Regions from separate parts of the Homo sapiens genome. Here region 2 is linked to region 1. Evidence: promoter capture Hi-C in 16 types of primary human blood cells and fetal thymus (Javierre and others, 2016). All regions are on one chromosome and are shown on one strand. The core of a region is centred on a gene start or on the middle of the fragment in contact, and the rest is flanking DNA. Distances in the headings are between cores, read along the strand shown.

The links. The method cuts DNA at HindIII sites, captures the fragments that hold promoters and counts their contacts. A CHiCAGO score of 5 or more calls a contact.
Region 2: a fragment that was not itself captured here is called in contact with the fragment with the promoter of DPPA3 in region 1 in 1 of 17 cell types (M1 macrophages); the score reaches 5.1 in M1 macrophages.

Annotation. Positions count from the first base shown.
Region 1 is chr12:7,709,874-7,713,005 of GRCh38, forward strand. DPPA3 (developmental pluripotency associated 3) reads left to right here and starts at 1,560. Exons shown (of 4, transcript NM_199286.4): 1 at 1,560-1,779. The coding sequence starts at 1,698. The HindIII fragment of the contact is 13,723 bases long and covers 1-3,132 here.
Region 2 is chr12:7,152,868-7,155,748 of GRCh38, forward strand. All of the region lies in intron 16 of CLSTN3 (calsyntenin 3), which reads left to right. Among named protein-coding and RNA genes, the nearest start is that of CLSTN3, 24 kb to the left of the region's middle. The HindIII fragment of the contact is 748 bases long and covers 1,145-1,892 here.

The DNA of each region.
Region 1 (3,132 bases), core at 310-2,809:
TGTTTCACCATGTTGGCCAGGTTAGTCCCGAACTCCTGGCTTCAAGCAATCCACCTGCCTTAGCCTCCCAAAGTGCTGGGATTACAGGCGTGAGCCACTGTGCCCAGCCTAGGTTTTTTACAAATGAGAGTCTATTTCAGCCCTTTTTGTTATCTCACCTCCTAATCCTAAACCCCCTGCAATGGGATTTTTTTGTATTTATCTCTCCAGTGAAATTCTTGCGGACTGATTATCAGAGATTCCCCAGGCAAGAGGGAGATTAGCCAAGAGCTGAACAACAGAAGTAGAAAGTTCACAGTGCCGTAAAGCAGGGCTGCTTAACTTGAGCACCCATCAGAATCACCTGGGGATCACTTCTGGGTCTTCTGGCTAAATGCAGAATTGCCTGGGAGGCTTGTTAAAGCATTACCACTGGGCGCCAGTCTTTGATTCAGTAGGGCTGGTTTGGAGCTCAGAATTTGTATATCTAAGTTAACTAGGTGCTTGTTGTAAACTGCACTTTTTTTTTTTTCCCAAGAGGCAGGGTCCTGCCCTGTCTACCAGGCTGGAGTGCAGTGGCACGATCATAGGTCACTGCAGCCTTTAACTGCTGGGTGATTAAGCGATCCTGGAGACCACACTTTTGAGAATCACTTGCATAAAGTGTTGGGACATGATCTATGCCTATGGCTGCTCATTCTCTATGAAAATATTTCTTAATCATAACTTCAATTTTTGCTTTTTACCAAACCCAAACAAGGTTGCCTTTGAGTATTTTCTCGTGGTTTCCACCTAGAGAGGGAATGGGGGAACGTGCGTATTTGAATAAGACGGGAAAAAGATGAGAGGGGCAGCTGGGGACTTGTTCTTCCACCTCCTGCAGACAATCAGTGGTTAAATGTTGTTGTGCTTTGCTACAAATACAAGCATTTTTTTGTGGGGAGGGAGTAGCAATTTGTAAGGTTAGTTAATTTCAGCTGCTCAGAAATGTTAGGTACTGTTTATAGTTTATAAAGCAAATTAACAAATAAAAAATACATGTCCCTAAAATATCAAGCTATGAAAGTGTTCATAACAGATACTTCTTCATTATTCCTCTCTTCTTAGTAGCAGCAAAGGTTTAAGATGATTGAAGCAAGGAAAACTTAAAGGAAACTTTCTCAGCTTAATTGGGAGTTTATGGGCAGTGGTGGTGGTGGGGCGGGGGCGGTAAAAACTGCCATTCTCCTCTGCACTAGAACACTTAAGCCCAGTTCACAAAACAGAAGCCATCTCCAGGAGTAGAGTTTGGGAAAAAAAAAAAAAAAAAAAAACAAGAAAAAAACAACTTATATGTAAGGCAACCTCAGGGAGACAGAACCACAAAAAGAGGATTTTAATAAATTTTCTAGCAGATATGACATCCGACAGATTATTTTAATGCAAAGCAGATGAAGAACTACCCTATGAGTCTAAACTACACCCATTCACCTTTAATCATTTGGATCCCTTAATCCTCTAATCATGGGATCATTAACATTCAAATATCCTGGAAGATTGGCTTATCTGTATTTTAAAAGGAAGCCGGACCTATAGTTTACGTCAGTTCTTTGACCATTCGTTGGAGCTCCGGTTTTCAGCCTCTTTCCGGGCTACCTGGTAGCAATTTGAGGCTCTGTCATCAGTTTCTGCTACGTTTCAAAGATCCTGGAGAAGCCTAGTGTTGTGTCAAGACGCCGATGGACCCATCACAGTTTAATCCAACCTACATCCCAGGGTCTCCACAAATGCTCACCGAAGAAAATTCCCGGGACGATTCAGGTAAGCCAGATAATGCCCTTCTTGACTATCTGACTATAGGGGGGTTGGGAGGTCAAAAGGCTGCCGTCTTTTTTTTTTTTTTTTTTTTTTTTTTTTTAATGTTGACTTCAGTCTTTGCAAGAGGAATGTATTTAGGTAAACCTCAAACCAGAGGGAGTCAACACAGAGAGGTCAAAGACTTTATTAAAAGCGGTGATGGTGGTGGTGAGAAATGTATTATTTTATTCACTATGCTTAGGAGTACTTCAGATTTCTTTCTTTTTTTTTCTTTTTTTTTTTTTGAGACGGAGTCTTGCTCTGTCGCCCAGGCTGGAGTGCAGTGGCGCGATCTCGGCTCACTCCAAGTTCCGCCTCCTGGGTTCACGCCATTCTCCTGCCTCAGCCTCCCAAGTAGCTGGGACTACAGGCGCCCGCCACCGCGCCCGTTTTTTTTTTTGTATTTTTGGTAGAGACGGGGTTTCACCGTGTTAGCCAGGGTGGTCTTGATCTCCTTACCTCGTGATCCGCCCGCCTCGGCCTCCCAAAGTACTGGGATTACAGGCTTGAGCCACTGCGCCCGGCCAGTACTTCAGATTTCTAAGACCAGTTTCTGGGGATAAATAATTGGAATCACAGAACGCGGCTCGTAGCGTCGTTGCATCAGTATCTTCCCCAACAGCAAATACATGTCAGGAACGGTAAAAAGGAACAAATACAGAGACCAAATAAACAAAAGATAGGGAAAAAAAATGAAACAATATGAGAAACTTTAACTTCAGTTGAACCTAAAGTTTTTCTTAATCTCTCGCCAACATTATTTTTATTTATATATTTTTTTGAGACGGAGTCTCTGTCGCCCGGGCTGGAGTGCAGTGGCGCGGTGTCGGCTCACTGCAACCTCCGCCTCTCGGGTTCAAGCAATTCTCCTGTCTCAGCCTCCAAAGTAGCTGGATTACAGGCATGTGCCACCACGCCCGGCTAATCTTTTGTATTTTTAGTAGAGACAGGGTTTCACTATGTTGGCCAGACTGGTCTCGATCTCCTGACGTCGTGATCCGCCCACCTCTGCCTCCCAAAGTGCTGGGATTACAGGCGTAAGCCAGCGCGCCCGTCCTATTTTTATTTTTATTTTTATTTTTGACAGTGGGTCTCTCCATGTTGCCCAGGCTGGTATCGAACACTTGGGTTCAGTCCATCCTCTTGCGTAGCTGGGACTGCAGGCGTGCGCCACCGAGTCCGGGCTCTAAGCCAACATTTTTGAGACAGGCTTTCCAGCTAAATGTTAATAAACAGACTAACAGCTTCACTGGGAAAATGGAAGGGAGAGGCCGTAAACGTGCTCCGTAATGTAAATTAGTAGCAGGACCTCCACCG
Region 2 (2,881 bases), core at 269-2,768, 560 kb before region 1:
CATGATTCCAGTCTGTGCACTAACCATGGCCCTCACCCTTCTCCCCAGATGTTTGATGCTTTAAAAAAGATTAGTCTTATTACTTTAGAGTTGCATATAATTAGGGGGAGCCCCTGAGGGGCTTCCCAGGGTTTTCTGACTGAGGCCAGCTCCTCTGATGCCCCCAGGGATTCAGTCTGGCTTCCTCTCCTTGTGCAACGGCCACCACCTACACTGTCTCTTATTTTATTTTATTTTATTTTTCTGGGACTGGCTCCCTTCTTCCTTGCTGTCCCTGAAAACAACCGCAGAGGCTTTTGGGAGGGAGAGACAGGGTCTTGTTCTGTCGCCTAGGCTGGAGAGCAGTGGTAATCCTAGCTCACTGGAGCCTCGAACTCCTGAGCTCAAGCAATCCTCCTGCCTTAGCCCCCTGAGGAGCAGATGCATGCCACTATGCCTGGCTATTTTTAAGACTTTTTATAGAGACAAGGTCTCACTTTGTTGCTCAGGCTGGTCTTGAACTCCTAGGCTCAAGCGGTCATCCTGGCTCAGCTTCCCGGAGTGCTGGGATTACAGGTGTGAGCCGCCGCACTTGGACTTGCAGACGCCTTTTTCAGTGTTCTACTGTGATTCACTATAGCAAGTAGGTGGAAGTGAGGATTAGCGGGGAATATAAGGCATAACCAAGCTGCAAAGATTAGAGAAGTTTCACATAGTATTTAGTCAATAGAGACATGTTAGCAAGCTAAACCTATTTATTTCAAATAAACTCTTGAGGCCAGCTATAAATTTTTTTCCTTCTTGTGATTCCATAGCACTTTCTCCAGTTCTTTCATTGGGGATCATTCCACTCAATCTTTTCTGGTTGGATACTAGGTCCTGCTACTCTGATTAGGCTCAAGGTAGATAGGGGTGCTGCCTGGCCTGGTGAGATTCTCGATCCTTACTTTCTTTGGTATAAGGCCCCAGGTGAGAGACTTCTTGTTCTAGGAGCCCAGCACCTTCTCCCCTGAGTGTCCAGCTGCCCTGCATGGGCTGGTCTGGCGGGCAGCGTTTCTCACCCCTCAGCCCCTGGAGGAGTGTCTGTTCACGGCACCCTTTCACCTCCCCTCGGTGAAGCCCAGTCTCCCCATCCTTTGTTCTGAGCTCATGTCCAGGCTGATCAAGCTTCCCTCAGATTTCAGTTGAGAGCAGCAGTTTTCCTTTGCTTCTTCTCTTATTTTGACCTGAATAGGACACAGAGTTCGTAGCTTCCCTGAGGGCACTGGTGATTGGCATGCCTGAGCTGACAGGCCATTCACGGCATAAAACCCTTTCCATATGCCTTTTCTGACTCCGCAAGGTGCTCCCTCCCTTTCACCTACAAATCTCGAGTGGTGTTGCAGAACTGTGGTTTCACAATATCAAACCATTCTAAACATGCAGAAGCAGTGAGAGGTACGATCTCCTCCAGTGGCACGGAGGCCCATTGCTCTAAATCTCCTAAGTGCACTAGAGAAAGAGAGATGAATGTGAACTGGAACCAGGGTAAACTGGAACAGTCAGGGGAGATTTTGTGGCACATGTAGAGTTTGCATTTGGACCTGAACTGTAAAAGGGATTTTTGGATGGGTGTGAGAGAGAATGGGAATTTGAGAACCGGGGGTAGATAGGTGGTTAAGAGTGTTTATGGTTAGAGAGAATAAGGTTGGTTGAGAAGAGCAAGCCGGATGATGAGGGTATTATGTATCTACTCATATCAAATTTTGATGACTGCCAGAATCACCTGGGGAGCTTTAAAAACTCTCGGCACCTAAATTATACCCTAGAATGTCTAGGGGGTGGGAGCCACGTGTCAGTGGTTTTTAAAAATCCCATGTAATCTTTAAAAGTTTGGGAATAATTTTCCTCTTTTGTTTCCTACAAGTATCTGAAGCTTTGCAGAAAGAGTTACAAAGCAATAGGACAAAAAGAAAATGAATGAGGAAGTAAGGAGGAACAGGTAATGATGAAATAAGGATCCAATGAAGCCAGGGAATAAAGTCAGCTCATAACATGCGTACTATGAGATGCTATGCAGTTGCTACCACGGGCCAGAATTTTGACCCTGAGCTTCTTCAAAGCTAAAGCAAAAGGAAACCTGAGCAGTTCTGAGAGCCGTGATAGGAGCCAAACGCTATTTCATGAAAAGCCCTGGGAGTGCGGGGGGCAGAAAGAAATCTCTCCCAAGGCTCTTTGCAAAGAGAGCACCGTGTGGGGCCATGGACAGGGCTTTCCACTGTCCTCGCAATCCCATGGACCATTTGCTAAGTCACCCCTTAATGTTGGCTCTGGAGGTCATTCAAGGCCAGAATTAACTGCTCAGATCTCATGTAGCAAGAAAAGCTGAACGCACTTCTTAAATTCTTGATTTTTATCTGTAGCTGATTTAAAAATCCTCCCATCTCCCCGGGCTCCTGACTCATCTTAAACTAATTAACCAGACTTGTTTGCTTGTAGATAGAGTGTCTGCATTTTGTCTTTCCTGTGGTCATTTCTTATTGTCCTGGCAATCAACTTGTCATTTCCTTCATTAGGCCAGGAGCTCGGAGGGACACTGCATTGATTAGGGCGCAAACCAGCTTTAGCTCGTCATCGTTGTGTGCTTAGAGGAAGTTCACCTGCTTTGGCCTCCACTCTGAGGGTGGGGTCACCACCCCTTCTGGAGCCTGGGCTTAGCCACTGGGCCCATCTGCCAGTGAAGGCACTGCCCCTGGCTCTGGTCTGTTGACGTGGAGACCTGAGAGACACTATTTCCTGCAGATGGGCAGGAGAGACAGCTCTGTCCCCTCCTCCCTTATCCCCCGTTCCCAGGAAGTTGAGAAATACTGATCCAGCCAGTCCTGTCTTCACCTTGGAACCAGTGTCGAGGGAGTGTGCCCCA